Linked DNA regions of Homo sapiens: region 2 is linked to region 1. The links are contacts of gene promoters, found by promoter capture Hi-C in human tissues and cell types (Jung and others, 2019). All regions are on one chromosome and are shown on one strand. The core of a region is centred on a gene start or on the middle of the fragment in contact, and the rest is flanking DNA. Distances in the headings are between cores, read along the strand shown.

Region 1 (7,570 bases), core at 4,371-6,870:
CAATATTACTATTTTAATATGTAATACATATAAAATAATTATTAATGAAATGTTTCACATTCTTTTTTATAGATGAAATCTTCTAAATTTATTACACACACAGCCCATCACAGTTAGGACTAGCCACCTTTCAAGCGCTCAGGGCCTGCATGTGGCTAGTGGCTGCTGTAGTGGACAGCACAGGTTTAAATCCTTCTTTCTCAAATTTTTTTGGCCAAACTTTTGGGATGGCATTTCCCAGAAATGGCTCTTTTTGGAAATCGTCATAACATTCTCTCTTCTCTTCCTAAATATAGTCTAAATATTCTCTCTTCCAATCTCTCTCTTTCTCAGTTCTTTCAAGCTGGCTGTGATCCTTCCCACCCCTTGCTAGAACCTAGAAAGAACTTTGAAATTACTCAGAAATCTTCTTTTTCCTTTCCTGCCACCCACAGATCCTCTTATCTGGAGCTAAGGCCAGGACAGCTCCCACCTGAGAGCTGGTATCTGTGTGTCTTCTGTGTGTGTGTGTGTGTGTGTGTGTGTGTGTGTGTGTGTGTGTGGACTTGGGGTGGGGTGGGGAGATGCTTGGGATAAGTAAGGGATGGGGAGGAGACAGTGCTTGAAGAAACTTCCCTAAAGTGCATCAGTACCATAAAGAAGATGGGTTTTTAAAAAGCTTTGGGGATTATATTGCTCCTATATTAGAGGAGCTGGTTAAAGGCATGACCCAATTAATTGCCTATCGTGTGCCCAGAGGACAGGCTTCATCCCCCTGCTTCAGAGGGTGGGAGTGGGATGAGGGAGCTGAGAGGCTTTCCCAGGGTCAAAAAAAAAAAAAATCAGACATGGGCAAGGGGCCTGGACATCCCAGCTTTCAGCTCAGAGCAAAATCCTGGACCCGCACTCCCTTTTGGAGGATTTCTAGCATCTGAGTTTTTATACCTCTCAGGTCTCCCCTTGTCTGCCCACCCCTTTCTCCAAAGGATGTGCCCTTCCTGCGTTATTTCATCAGGAACGGAGTCTTCCTCACTTGGCCCTGGCTCCCCCCACCACAGCCCCACCTGGATCCAGGGTCAGGAAGGAGGCCTTAGGTAGAGAGAAGCGTCCCCCTGCCCTCATTTCCTTGCTCCCATTATCCGTGTTGCAGCCCTCAGGGCCTGTGGCAGCTTTCTCTGTAAACAATATCTCCCTTCCTCAGGCCAATTAAATAAGCACTATAATAAAGGCAAAGGCAAATGCAAAGCACTGGGCAGCCCTGTGTAAAGGGCTATTAAACCTAATGCTGCCATTCATTTATTGAAGAGCCTCCCATGTGCCAGGGACTGTGCTAAGCTCGTTAGATTTGTGATTTTATTTAATCCCCATGGTGTCATGAGTTGGATTCTATTATCATCCTCATTTCACAAACACAGAAACTGAGACTTGGCACTCACCAGTAATGTCCCAGATAGCTGGCCATTTCATTACAGGGTGGAGAGCTGAGCCAGGGCCTGGCGATCCCAGAGCTGGTGTTCTCTTTTGGGGGATCCAAGGATCCTTTGAAGAGAGGTGATGTTTCCATGAAAGCTTATAAGCAGATAGGATTCAGAAGGTAGGAAAAGGGGGAATGAAAACCCGGGGCTGAAGGAAGAGTGTGAGCAAGTACAGGAAGGGCCCAGAATCCAGAATGTACTCTGGGGCCCATGAGCTGGAGCAGGAGTGCTGGGTAGAATGGAAGTGCCCAAACCTCACAACTGCAGTGACTTTTAAAATACGGGCTCCAAGGCCTTTCTCCAGACTGATTTCTCTAGGGGTGGAACCTGGAACCCTGAATTATAAAGAAGTTCCCCGGGGGTTGGGGTGGGGGTTCTGATGCAGCAGGAAGCACTGGAAATCACTAGAAGGTGGAGTTGGGGAGGCGTTGGCAGGAATGGAGCAGATTAGCCTGAAAGGGGATCAGGGCCAGATGAGGACTAACATGAAGACCTTGCTAAGTAAGGAGTGTGGCATTCAAGGTCCTTCTTTTTATTATAAGGCCCAGTAACTTTTTAGGCTAAATCTTATAAGCAATGGAAAGCTACTGATGATTTTCAGGAGAAACCAAGGTGTGATCCAACCTTTGTTATAGGAAGAACATCCTTGTGCAAGTGTATAGGAGGGATTGGAGATACTGGAGGCATTGAGACCAGTTAAAAAATTATCAAAATATTCCAGGTGACTAGTGATAAGTCTGTCAACTAGGACTGGAACAATGATGTTTCATTCAGTTCAATCCAACAAGCATTTCTTTAATATGTTTTCTGGATTGGGCACTGGACCAGGTTTTAGGGATCCTAAGATGAAATAAGATATTGTCCCCATCCTCAGGGAACTCGCAATCTATCAATATTCATTAAAAATAATTAAGTTGAGAGTGAAGGGAACTGTAGTTGGGTGGTATTATGGACTAAATTGTGTCCGCCACCCCAATTAATATGTTGACACCCTAACCCCCAATGTGACCGTATATGAAGACAGGGCCTTTAGGGGGGTTAAGCGAGGTCATAAGGTTAGGCCGCAATCCAACAGGACTGTCCTTATAAGACGAGGGAGAGACCACCAGAGCTGTCTCTCTGCCTGTGTACACAGAGGAGAGGCCACGCGAGGGCACAGTGAGAAGGTGCCATCTACAAGCCAGGAGGAGAAGCCTCTCCAGAAACCAACTCTGCTGGCACGTTGATCTTGAACTTCCAGCCTCCACAACTGTAAGAAAATCAATGTCTCATGTTGAATCCATCCAGTGTGTGGCATTTTGTTGTGGCAGCTTGAGCAAACTAATACAGACAGGTCTTAAATTTTTATTCATATTGTGACATTGGCAGAATTCAGTTGGGCCATTGATCACCCACATTGGAAGATTGGAGGAGGCAGCCTGGGCTGGTGTGGGCTGCTTATACCACAGACAAAGTGCAGGTAGAGTGAGAAGAGGGCCCAGAACCAAACAGAAACTCCAAAATTTAGGAGTGATAACTAGGATTTGTAGAAACTTCTATTTGGTTATAATGTCAGTGTGTTGATGGCTTATGCAATACAACATGTACATTCCTCTCCATTCTCTTCTTCATCCTCAGAGGGATGATGGGGAAGAAATTGTAGAGTATCTGTAGTGAATTCTTAATTTCTACTCTATCCTTTCTCTACTCATTGACAGAGCCAAAACTGAGATGTGGAACTCATGGAATTTGACATATTGACAACTCATTTCTTCATTAAGTATTTACTAGCTTGTGTCTTCTGTTGATTCCTGTATTATTGCTACTTAATGTTTTACATATTGGCGCTTTGTCTTCTTCAACAAATGAATGCTTCTTGAGGACAGGAGCCATAACCTGAGCCTCTTTGCTTCTGCTCTTTATTCTTAGTGCTAGCACACAGCAGAGCTTCTGGTGGGTGCAGGGAAAATATTTGCCTTCAGTGATTATAAAAACGATGGTTATATTTTGGATAATCATTTTTTAAGCTCTTGCAAATGACAAAAATAGTCAAAGCAAGATATATTTACTTAAAACTACGATGTGCAGTTTAAAGCACCAAAAAGGTATTAGTGAAAATCATAGTATTTGAAGACTCCAAAAATTAATAGCTCATGGCAATGGATCTCCCATATCAGGAAAGTGTTGGGCATTGATCTAGATTTCAGAAAACGAGGGGTGTGACAGGTGTAAATCAGTGATCCAAGGCTGTTGCCTGCGGTCCTATTTATGGCTCACTGACACCTCTCTGATGGGGTGAATTCAGCCTGATTTTCCCCTCTGACTCTGCAGGCTGCAGCAACTCACTGGGAGCCATGGGAAAGAGAGAAACTCCTCCCTCCAGGGGTCCTGGGCAGAGACAAATGGATCTCCCCTCCCCCTCCCTTATCTGAAGAGGGCTTCCCTCTGAGAGTTTATGGCAGCCTGACCTCCAGCCTCTGGGTTGGAGAATCTGGCCGCTTCTGTACCACATAAAAAGGGCAAGTGCATTCATTATTATTATATTATTATACAATGTATAATATATAATAGCGATTATGCTGTCAGCAGCCAGAGACTCTGACTGCAGATCAGAGGCTAGGGTGACATAAATCCACCTAGTGAAGTTTTTGAAGGTTCTATGTGAAGGTGAGAGGATTCTAATCTGTCTATAATGGGGGCTACCACTGAAGAGTTTCTCCCACAAGCAACGTTGGTGGGTGGATTTGAGGGTATTGGGAGGATCTGGACAAACAGTAGTGTGTGTATCTGGGATGTGATATAAGAAGGGTCTCAATTGCCTCCCCTGAGCCAGGCAATGCTAACAGCTCTCATCCTTGCCCATGACGGAGGCGGGTGAGTGGCGACCCAGAGGCCTGAGAAGAGCTCAGGGGCAGCCTTCAACTTCTTGGGTCAGATTCTTTACTGAAAACCCAGAGGCTGGGTTTCACTTTCTGCTTTCCCGCTTTTGTCGGTGTCTTTGTCTGGGCTTCTTCCAGGCCCCCTGCCTGGCCTGGGGTCAGAGGATCAATGGCTGCCTGACTGGCTGAAAGGGCTCCTCTATGGGGAGCAAGAAGCAAACTTCCAGAGGCAGAAGGGGTTCTCTTGTCCCTTTATGCGGAGGGCCATGTGCTAAGTTGAGGAAGCAAGCAAGTGTGCTCCTGTGTGTGGCTCTTAGTAGGACTGTGATCTCTGCTGAGTGAATGGAGGCGCTTGTGGGTCTACACATGCCTGCTTTTGTCTTCCACTGTAGAGGGCATGTAAGGAGCCCATTTCCTCCCTGATGTAGATGAAGCCACCCCAGCAGGCCCAGGCTGAAACAGCCCAGCTGGTCTTTCCCTTTATATGACTGCACCCCAGCCCCCAGAACTCTGGGAACTCACTGAGTTTCTTGAGGACTTTTTATTAGAATGAAAATAGCAGTGGCTTAGAACAGGCTTGCCTGACATTTGCAAAGAAGTGCTTTACTGACAAAGCCTATCCACTCTTTCCTCTCTCCCTCTGCCCCACCTTGAACCAGACACCCCGGGAAGCCCACAGCAGAAAAAGCTCTTGAGACCAGGAATAACTAACCAGAGTGTCATCTGAACACCTTTTCTGGGGCCAGGGTAATGAGAATTATTCAAATGCAATCATAAAAATGAGGCCAGCCAGGCAGGAAAAGGGGGAGGGGGAGTGCTGGTGGAAGGAAGGATTTCTTGCCCGTTTTAAGTTTCATCATTTCTGGGGAGTTCTCTTGGGGTCCACAGAAAATCTCACCTCATCTCGGTCCCCTCAGCACCGGTGATATCTTGGAACTCGGCCCCGGTTGTTCGCTAAGGAGGACTTGGCTTGGGGGCGGGAGGGTGCTCCAGAGTTCCTGGGGGTCCACCGCACTCCCCATCCGAGGCTCCTCGCGAGCGGAGCCGCTTCTCCAGGCCGCCCGCCTCCCTGCCGCAGGAGCAGGCCCGCGCCCGCCGCCCGAGAGCCTCCGGTAGAGGGAGACACTCCAGCGGCTCCTCCGACTTGGCAGCGGCCGGGCCGGGAGTGGGTGGGGGTGATGGGGGGTGGGGAGAAAAGGGGGAGTGGGGAGAGGGGAGGTGTGTGAAGGGGGGGTCCGGGGGGCGGGTCCCTGTGCCGCTGACGTCCCGAGCAGTGCTGGGAAGTATAGGCTGTGTTGTCACGCCGGTGTCAGTCTGATGAAGATTGGCATCAGGTAAGCTGTCATTCATTTCCATGTCAGAGACGCTTTTGCAGGCGGCGGCGGCGGCGCGGCGGCGGCTGCTGCTGCGGGCGGCTGCCTCAGAGCGCGTGTGTTTTATTCCAGTCCCCAAGCCAGAGTATTATTCATTGCGACAGGGCAAGGAGGAGAGAGGGAGAGAGGGAGGCAGCAGGGAGGAGAGAGAGGGAGGCAGCAGGGAGGAGGGAGGCAGGGAGCAGCGAGGGACGGCGGGAGCGTGCAGAGAGAAGCTGGGGAAGCGCCGGGAGAGCGCGGAGCGGAGCAGCGCGAGGGGCGGCGAGGCCGGGCACGGAGGCTGCGAGAGCCCCGCGGGCCGCCCGCTCCCCTGCCCGGCCAGCGCTCAGCCCCGCCGCCGCCGCCGCCGCCGCCTCGCCGCGCTTGGGCCCGTGGCCGGCCGCGCATTGTCCTCGGGTGCAAGGAGCCGGGCTGCGGACTCGAATCGCCGCGGGCCCAACCCCGTAGCGGGCGGGCGGGGAGCTGTGCGCCAGGAGCGCCAGGGGACCCGAGAATAGGAACAGGCACGCCGGCCCGAGCCCGGGTGCAGAAGGCTCCCGGCCGGGCGCTCCGCGGGGAGAGGCTGGGAACCGCGGGCAGGCTCCAGGTTCTCTTTCTCCCGGCTTCGGGCGTCCTTGGGGCCGGCGCTTACTCCGCGCCACCAGCCTGGAGATGCTTTCCAGCGGCTGGAGGCGGGAGCGGTCCCAGGCTGGGGCCAGGTGACCGGAGGAGTCGAGGAGCCGCGGCCGCGGCCTGGGGAGGCAGGGCGAATGAGGGTTTGCAGACGGATCAGTGGAGACAGGGGAACACCGGCGGGGCCCGGGAAGCCAGGATCCGAGGGGCTACACGCACGGACCCTCACCCAGGGAGGAGCGAGAATGTGTAGGGTCACCGGCTTTCCATGATTGCTGGGGATCTTTGGTGAGGCGGGCGTAGGGGCCCGCGCGAGGCTTGGGAATCGGGAGCCCTTCTGGCTCGAGAACTAGGGGATGAGTTCGTAAAAGAGGGAACTGAAAGCGATCGAGAGCGGAGAGCTGAGGGGGATGGCGCAGGATCCCGAATCTGCCGCTCAAAGTTTGCATTTCTTTCGGGTTAGGAGACGGGCTTTCCTGGCTCCCGATCCCCAGGAAGAAACGAGCGAAATGGGCCGTCCTTTCCCGGGGCTCTTCACGGGGGAGCCGGGGGTTTCCGCGCGGTGGGGAGACTCGGGTTGGGAATTGAGGGGTAGGGGCTTGTGGATCGGCCTGAATTAGGGCTGGGTTTTAGGACCAGTCTAGAGTTCGGTTTATAGGATCCAGACTGTTTACGGAATCGGGATCGAGGGGCCGATAAGTAGTTTACACGCCGGCCAGAGCAGAGGGCTGGAGGTCGGAGTTGGGGGCTGGAGGAACGGGTGGCGTTTTTAGGATTCAGTAACAGGATCACAGCTTTTTCTTGTGGTGGAAGCTATTGGAATTTGGGGAGGGTAGCACGAGGGGTCCTGCAGCTCCGCGTGTGAAAAAGCGTTTAGGTAGGCGATGAAAGTAGTTGATCTGAGCCATGGCAGGCGAGCCCCGAATTTTTGCTGCTTCCCCCTGAAAGTGTTTCTTTAGGAGGAGAGGACTTGGGCCACACAGGACCCGGTCCTAAGAGAGCGATTCCGGGAAGCGGACAGATCGAAGAGACCTTCTGGGCGAAGCGGCAGGGCAGCCTCGCGGGGCTGGGAGTGGATCTGAGGTCCCGACCCAGGCGGCTCGGAGTGCTCCAGGAGCCACCTGGGTCTGCGGGCGCAGCGCGGCGGGGCGGGAGCGGTGGCCCGCAGGGGCCGCGGCCTGCGATGAAGGCCGGGGGGCAGCGCTAGCAGCGAGGTGCCACAGTGGGCCGAGGAGTCTGGGCTGTGGCCCAGGGTAGGACCGGCTCAAACTCC
Region 2 (7,262 bases), core at 4,272-6,771, 260 kb after region 1:
CGGGAGGCTCTAATCTCTTACCCACCACTTTGACCCAAGAAACCACAGACATCTCTTGGCTCCCATGCAAAGTCTGGGTAAAGCAAAGGGGAACCCCAACGCCCAGCAGAGGCGTGGAGCCCCGTCCTGGGAGAGGTGTAGAGATTTTACATGTCCAGTCCCGGTCTTCAGACCTCACAGCGATGCTGCCTTTGATGTCTCCCCCACCCCACTCATCACATTCAGAAGCCTGGCCTGGCATCCAGCTGCACTCTGCCATCCACCACCCCATCTTCCATTCAGCCACAAGGAGCTGAGGGCTCACTCCAGGGCCCTTCTATGAACTCTGCTGTGGTCACAAAAGCTGAGTGCACAAAAAACACCCAGGGCCTTCTCTGTGTGACTTTTTAGATAGAAACATAATTCACGTACCATAAAATTTACCGTTTTAAACTGTGGAATTCAGTGGCTTTTAGTATCTTTACAGAGTTGTGCAATCATCACCACCATCTAATTCCAGAATATTTTCATCACCCCAAAAAGAAAGGTTGTACCCATTAGCCATCACTCCCCAGCCCCTGGCAACCATGAATTCACTTTCTGCCTCTATGGGTTTGCCTATTCTGGACATTTCACCTAAATGGAATTGTGGGATTCTCATGTCTAGCTTCTTTTACTTAGGACAATGTATCAGTACTTCATTCCACGTTGTGGTTGAAGCATATTCCATGGTACAGATGTAGCACATTTTGTTTATTCATTTATCAGTTGATGGACTTTGGGGTTGCTTTCACTTCTTGGCTCATAAGTCCTGCTGCCATGACGGGTATACTCTGCATGATTCTGTGCCTGTTGTTCTCTTAGACTCTGTCAGATGCCCAGCTATCCTTCCCCCAGCCTGAGAACCTCACATGCCGGGCTCCTTCTGGCTGGGGGGAGGCAGAGCGGCTGTACCCCAGGAACAGCGGGTGCACTGCACAGAGCTCCTGGCCAAGGAGGGCACGTGGAGGTGAAGCCCAGCCAGTTGCCTCTGTGCCTCGGTGTTGCCTTTGGTCACTCCACATTCTTTGCATGCCTCGCTACCTCCCCTGCGCAGAGCATTGTGTTAAGTCTTGAAGGGATGACAGTCAGCCCTCTGTGTCTATGGGTTCTGAATCCCTGGATCCGACCAACCTTGGATTGAAAATATATCTTTAAGTGGATGGTTGCATCTGTCCTGAACATGTATCGCCTTTTTTCTTGTCATTATTCCCTAAACAACACAGTATAATAACTATTTATATAGCATTTACATTGTATTCATTACTGTAAGTAATCTGGAAATGTTTTAAAATGTACGGGAGGATGTTTGTAGGTTATATGCAAATACTACATCATGTTATATCAGGGACTTGAGCATCCATGAATTTTGGTCCCCCACGGACACTGGAGGTTGACTCTCTCTAGCTGTATCTCTGTCAAAGGCCCACCTACAGGACCCATCCACATGGCTGACATAGGAATGGCAATGTTTCTTAGAAACCACATAGCCTATGGAAAGGACATGGTTCCTGGGGCAGGACCTGGGTTGAGTTTTCACCACCCCCTCTACCTAGCTTGGCGAGCTTGGGTGATTGTTTGCCCTTGTGAAGCCTCTCTTTCCCCTGCTGTAAAACAGGAGCTGCAATATCCAGCTCATAGGTTGTTGTGAGAATAGAATAAGCGGATGGGCGTGAAGGTTCTTTGTCCCGATACAGGCACCGCTACTGCTACAAATGCCTCCAGTCTCATTGAGAGTTCCCATAATTGGCCTTGCCTTGGAAAATGCTGAGAGAAACCACAAAACTTTTGGGGAACCTATGGAGGAAAGCAAGAACCCCTGAAAAAAAAAGAAAAAAAAAAAAAACAAGAAAATGGCTTAGGGAGACTGGCCCATTTTTGTTCCAGAATATTTTGTCTGCTACCTTTTCCTTTAACTTCCTCATACTGTCTGAAATTCCACTTGCATACGTATTAAGGATTAACTTTTTAATGAAATTCCACTATTAGAGACCCATTTTAAACTATCCAATCCCTGTACAAAGCAATGACTATGAAAGGCTGTGAGGCCATCATTTACTCACAGATTAGTACGAATTAGTTCAAAAGCTTGCTTTACTATTCCCACTCAGCTAAGATCAGCTTCATGGGAAGAATGGGGCCAGGCACAGTGATAATCCCAGCACTTTAGGAGGCCAAGGCGGGAGGATTGCTTGAGCCTGAGAGTTCGAGACCAGCCTGAGCAACATAGCGAGACCTCATCTGTTTAAAAAAAGAAAAAATTAAAAAAAAAAAAAAAAAGGCCGAGTGCAGTGGCTCACACCTGTAATCATGCCAGCACTTTGGGAGGCTGAGGTGAGTGGATAGCCTGAGTCTAAGAATTCGAGACCAGCCTGGGCAACATGGCAAAACCCCGTCTCTACTAAAAATACAAAAAAATAGCCAGGCATGGTGGTGGGCACCTGTAGTCCCAGCTATTTGTGGGCCTGAGGTAGGAGGATCATTTGAGCCCAGGAGGTCAAGGCTGCAGTGAGCCCTGATTGTGCCACTGCACTCCAGCCTGGACAACAGAGTAAGACCCTGTTCCCTCCCCACCACATTTCCCCCAAAAAAGCTGAGTTTTTTATTTAAAAAAAAAAAAATGGGGGCCGGGCACGGTGGCTCACGCCTTTAATCCCAGCACTTTGGGAGGCCGAGGTGGGCAGATCATGAGGTCAGGAGATCGAGACCATCCTGGCTAACACGGTGAAACCCCACTCTACTAAAAATACAAAAAATTAGCCAGGGGTGGTGGCAGGCACCTATAGTCCCAGCTACTTGGGAGGCTGAGGCAGGAGAATGGCATGAACCTGGGAGGTAGAGCTTGCAGTGAGCTGAGATTGCGCCACTGCACTCCAGCCTGGGTGACAGAGCAAGACTCCATCTCAAAAAAAAAAAGAAGAATGCTAGTGCTTGTTGGTGGTAGAAGATGAAGGTTAAAATACTTTCTAACAGCATTTTGAGGAGCCAAGCCAGAATGGGGTGCAGAGAAGTTTCTAACAATTGTTCTCAACCTCTCTAAGCCTCTCTATCTTTTGAGAATCTGATGAAAGCTTATTTAGATCATTGTGAACATAGTTTCAGGGCATTTGACCCTGAAGTCAGGGGTCCCAGAGGCCTGAGATTCAGCATGCTGACTGTAGGGTGACACAGAACCCAGGGGCTTCTGAGAAAAGGAACTGGGGCATCGTGTCAATAGGGCACAAAAAGGAGACGCTGAAGGTTCACTTGCATCAATCATGGAGTCTTCCCCAGCCTAGTTCTGACCCTGAAAGCAGAGAGCAGTCTCTCGCCTGTCCTTCCTGAAGCCCATGGACCCCTCCCGACTTGAACACAGATCTTTAACCAAAGTGGCTTTTAGGACTGGCCAGGAAAACTGCCTGTTTTTAGAATAACTTCTGTCTATGAAAAAAAAACATGATCTAAGTTCCAAATAACATATCTCTTCACGAACACCCAAATTTCAGGTATGAGATGTGATTTCAGCACTAAGGGGGTTGATCATGTAATTGGGGAAATAAATGATAGACATAAGCCAGGAGAGGTCAACCCACGACGTAATCAAGTGCTATTATACAAGCACGGACACTCGAGTGGCTCAAGAGCCAGAAGAGTGTGTCCAGGCACTAGAATCAGGTTGCAAAAGGTTCTTTGACAATCATCTTCAGAGGGGGCAGGCAGGATGGGGAGATGTTTCTTCCAGTGACCCTAACAGGAAGCATGTCATGTGAGGAGCGGCTGAGGGGTCTGGGGATATCTTGCCTGCAGAAAAGAAGACTCGGGCAGCCTGTTCCTTTATGGCAGCATGGTGTAGCGCAAGGAGCAAGGGCTTTGGAGGCAGATAGGCTTGAGTTGGTCCAAGCTCTAATTTTACTTACTGTGTGATCTGGAACAGGTTAATGAACTTCTCTGATATTGCTTTCCTCTTTATAAAATGGAGATAGAAATGCTACCTATGATGAATAGGATTGACAATATGTTAGAAAACACAGTGCCTGAAGGGTGGCCACGTGTTCAGCAGAAACACCTTCCTACCCGTCAGAGCAAAGGGCTATGCACTGAACGATGGTGGCCTTGCAGGCCGGCATGTCACATTTTTTATGTCAGCACACATAGAAAATGATAGTCAAGCCACCAGGCTGCTTACGCCCGGAGACCAGCCGGGGAGCCCTTGCTGCTCCAGACTCTGCAAACCACATCCGGGGCCAAGGACACCGCTGTCTGCACACTTACACCTTCTTGGGGTATGCTGGCTGGAAAGCGCTGGTGTAGAGGGCTCCTGCCCTGTGGGAGAAGCTGGACACAGAGACCCTGAGAGCTCTGTGTAATCTTGAGATGTTGGTTAACAGGGTTTGGTTGGAGAAGCTGGCATTTGGGCTGGGCCTTATGAAGGATGGCTAGGATTTAGGATTGGGTAGGAAGAGAAAAAGGAGGGGTCATTTTGGATGACAATTATCTCTTAGATAATCATCAATGCCCCTATGATTCGTATTGGCCACAGGGAGTGACCCCTCGCTCCAAGTTGTTGTGGTCCTCAAACCCTCTTCACCCCTTATTCTCACTCTTGAAACCTGGGAACACTGTGGCCCCTTACCCCAGCCACGACTGTCTTCATTCTAGACGCTGTTCAGGCATCTGTGCCTGAAGGCCTTTAGTGTACGGCTACCAGGAGGAAGGAGGTCAGGCCAGCTGGGTTCTTGGTTACATTTCTCTCTTTGTCCCAGAGAAATCTTAGACCTCAGACTCCTGCCTGTGGGGTGAGAGTGTTTTCTCCACCCATCCTTCGCTGTAGGGATCTAGAGAGAAGCTGCCCTCCAACTCCCCAGGAGTGATGTTTGACTGTCGGAGGCATCCCCTGGTGTAGCGCTGTCCCAGGGTGTGTGCCCTGCTGGCAATGTGTCCCCAGGGAAGGAAGAATTGGATTGATGCTTCTCCATCCAAGACTGAGCCTTGTCGACAACAGGCAAGTCAGCTGCAGGGTTGCATGGAGGCGCTGAAAAGGGAAGGTGTGCAAGAGACCCCTGGGTTGCACTGAGCCCCAGGACACCCCAGAGGGCTGCAGCTCTAAGAAAGTCCACCTGAAAAATGGCTGCAGGAGATTTACAACCTCACAGCATTCCCCAAGAAGCTTAAGACTCAGGTTAGGATAAAATGTCCCCATCATAGTACATGCAGGAAATAAAACCCATTTGAAAAAATGAGCGTATTTGTATGCTCACAGAAGGGGCTGCTGGGAGGCTCCTGCCATCTGCCAGGAAACAACCTGTGGCTTCTTCAGAGACACAGCCACATGCGTCAAGCTACAGACTTATTTGTTATTTATTTAACAAACACAGAGTACACTAAGCACCGTTCTAAATAGCTTTCGTATATTAACTCATTTACTGATACTGATCAGTTTAGCTACACACACACACACACACATATGTATACACATACATATATACGTATGTATATACACATATATACATATATACTCATTTAATTCTTATAGCAACCTTGAAGCAGGTGGAATTATCTCTCCCATTTTACAGAAGAAGAAACTAAGTAATTTGCCCAAGGTCTCACGCCGGTTAGAGACAAGACAAGGATTCAAACCTGGGCAGTCTGACTCTAGAGTCCGTGTTCTCACGTACTTCTAACAGTACTGCCTCCACGTCTTCTTTAGAGAGGTGACCGGTGTGCCTTAATGGACTCTTAAGTACCCCCTTTTTCTCTTCCACATCCTCCCTGAATATACGTTCAACAATAATTGAAAAAGCAGCATTATTAGTGAGTAGAGCAACCTGCCTCTAGGTGGAGCTCCTGGGAGGTCCGATCACTGATGCTTTCCCCACTCACCTTTAACCTGCAGATGCCCACAGGAAATGGTGAGAAGTACCAGTTACTCCGAAGGCCCCGTGTTCGTTCATTCAACAGATGCATACTGAACACTTACTACATGCCACACATTTTTCCTTGGTGCTAGTGAGGTAGGGTTGAAAAGAAAGACATGGTCCCTTTTCTCAAAACACTTGCAGCCTGCCCCTTGGGGTGACAGGTAGCTACACAGACCCAAAGCCCCTGTAGTAGGAAGAATCCTAGATAGGGCAAGTGCTCAGAGCTCATAGAAGGGGCATCTGAGAGGGCTTCACTTATCAGGGATGGGGATGGGGAGGAGGTTAAGAAGGACCCATCTTGCTGGCATTGTGAAGCATAGATTGACACAGAAACCAGAGGGAAAGAGAATAGTTTTGAGATTGCAGGAAGGTGAAGAATGGGACAGCAGTGTGTCTTCACAGTGGAAAACTACACAGCGATTAAAAGGAACAATTACAGTTAAACAGAGCCAGCATGGATGAATGATTCCATTTACATCAGGTTCAAAAACCTGATGTCAACTAGGTCATCATGTTTAGGATGTAACACAGATAGCAAAACTATAAAGAAAAGCAAGAAAGTGGTTACTGCAAAAGTCAGGAGATCTTTGGAGAGGTGTTTGGGGGGACAGAAGGGGGTTTGTGGGGTGCTGGTAGTATCCTATTTTTTTGACCTGGGGGTGGTTACATGGGTGTTTGCTTTTCTTCGTACTTTTCTGAGTGTTCAGTTTTAAGGGGAGCAGGGATAAAAATGAGAGCAAAAATAAAAGAATGGAAAGCATGAACAAGGGCAATGACTACAGAAAGAGAAGTTTCTCGGGTGACTTATTGTGCTTCTCTTTATTCTAAAAGACTTTTTTTTTCTTCCATTTTAACATCTCTGAAATTGGGTACATCCCACCATCAGTGGCCTCTTAGATGTGATGGAATGTGGTCGTTTTGGGGCCCCCACCATCCTGGCTGCCTTCCTCTGGGTCTCTGGCCCTCCTAGAGTGGAACCACCCCAGAGTGGTGGCTGGCAGCAGCCCATGGCCCCACAGCTGTCAAGAGGGAGAGGAGGGGAAAAGCGTGTAGTGGACTCTGGTGCAGCGCTGCTGATGGCAGGAAACCTAATGGAAGCTCGCTGATCTGAATCAGCCTCCATGCCCCGCTCCACCAGCACCTCAGTGTCTATTGACACTGACAGGCTGCGGCTTCCCATCTGCTGTGTCCCTTGGTGAACTGGCTCACCTCATGGTGAGATCTACATGGCTAGGAGGTGGAAGGACAATTGCCAATGGGCTGTGCATGAAAGAAATATCCAGGACCTGTGAACCAGAACTGGCTTAGCTTCCTTCTGAACCAGCCCCTGGGCAGAACTCACTCTTT

What was found. Contacts are between HindIII fragments. The study calls those that stand out against the background at their distance.
Region 2: a fragment that was not itself captured here is called in contact with the fragment with the promoter of PKNOX2 in region 1 in 1 of the 25 tissues and cell types used here (H1 embryonic stem cells).

What each region holds. Positions count from the first base shown.
Region 1 is chr11:125,159,131-125,166,700 of GRCh38, forward strand. PKNOX2 (PBX/knotted 1 homeobox 2) reads left to right here and starts at 5,621. Exons shown (of 13, transcript NM_001382323.2): 1 at 5,621-5,646. PKNOX2-DT (PKNOX2 divergent transcript) reads right to left here and starts at 5,479. Exons shown (of 3, transcript NR_125759.1): 1 at 5,211-5,479; 2 at 1,416-1,518. RefSeq lists a silencer at 5,334-5,483. The HindIII fragment of the contact is 7,397 bases long and covers 1,104-7,570 here.
Region 2 is chr11:125,417,603-125,424,864 of GRCh38, forward strand. All of the region lies in intron 10 of PKNOX2 (PBX/knotted 1 homeobox 2), which reads left to right. Among named protein-coding and RNA genes, the nearest start is that of FEZ1, 75 kb to the right of the region's middle. The HindIII fragment of the contact is 5,849 bases long and covers 2,598-7,262 here.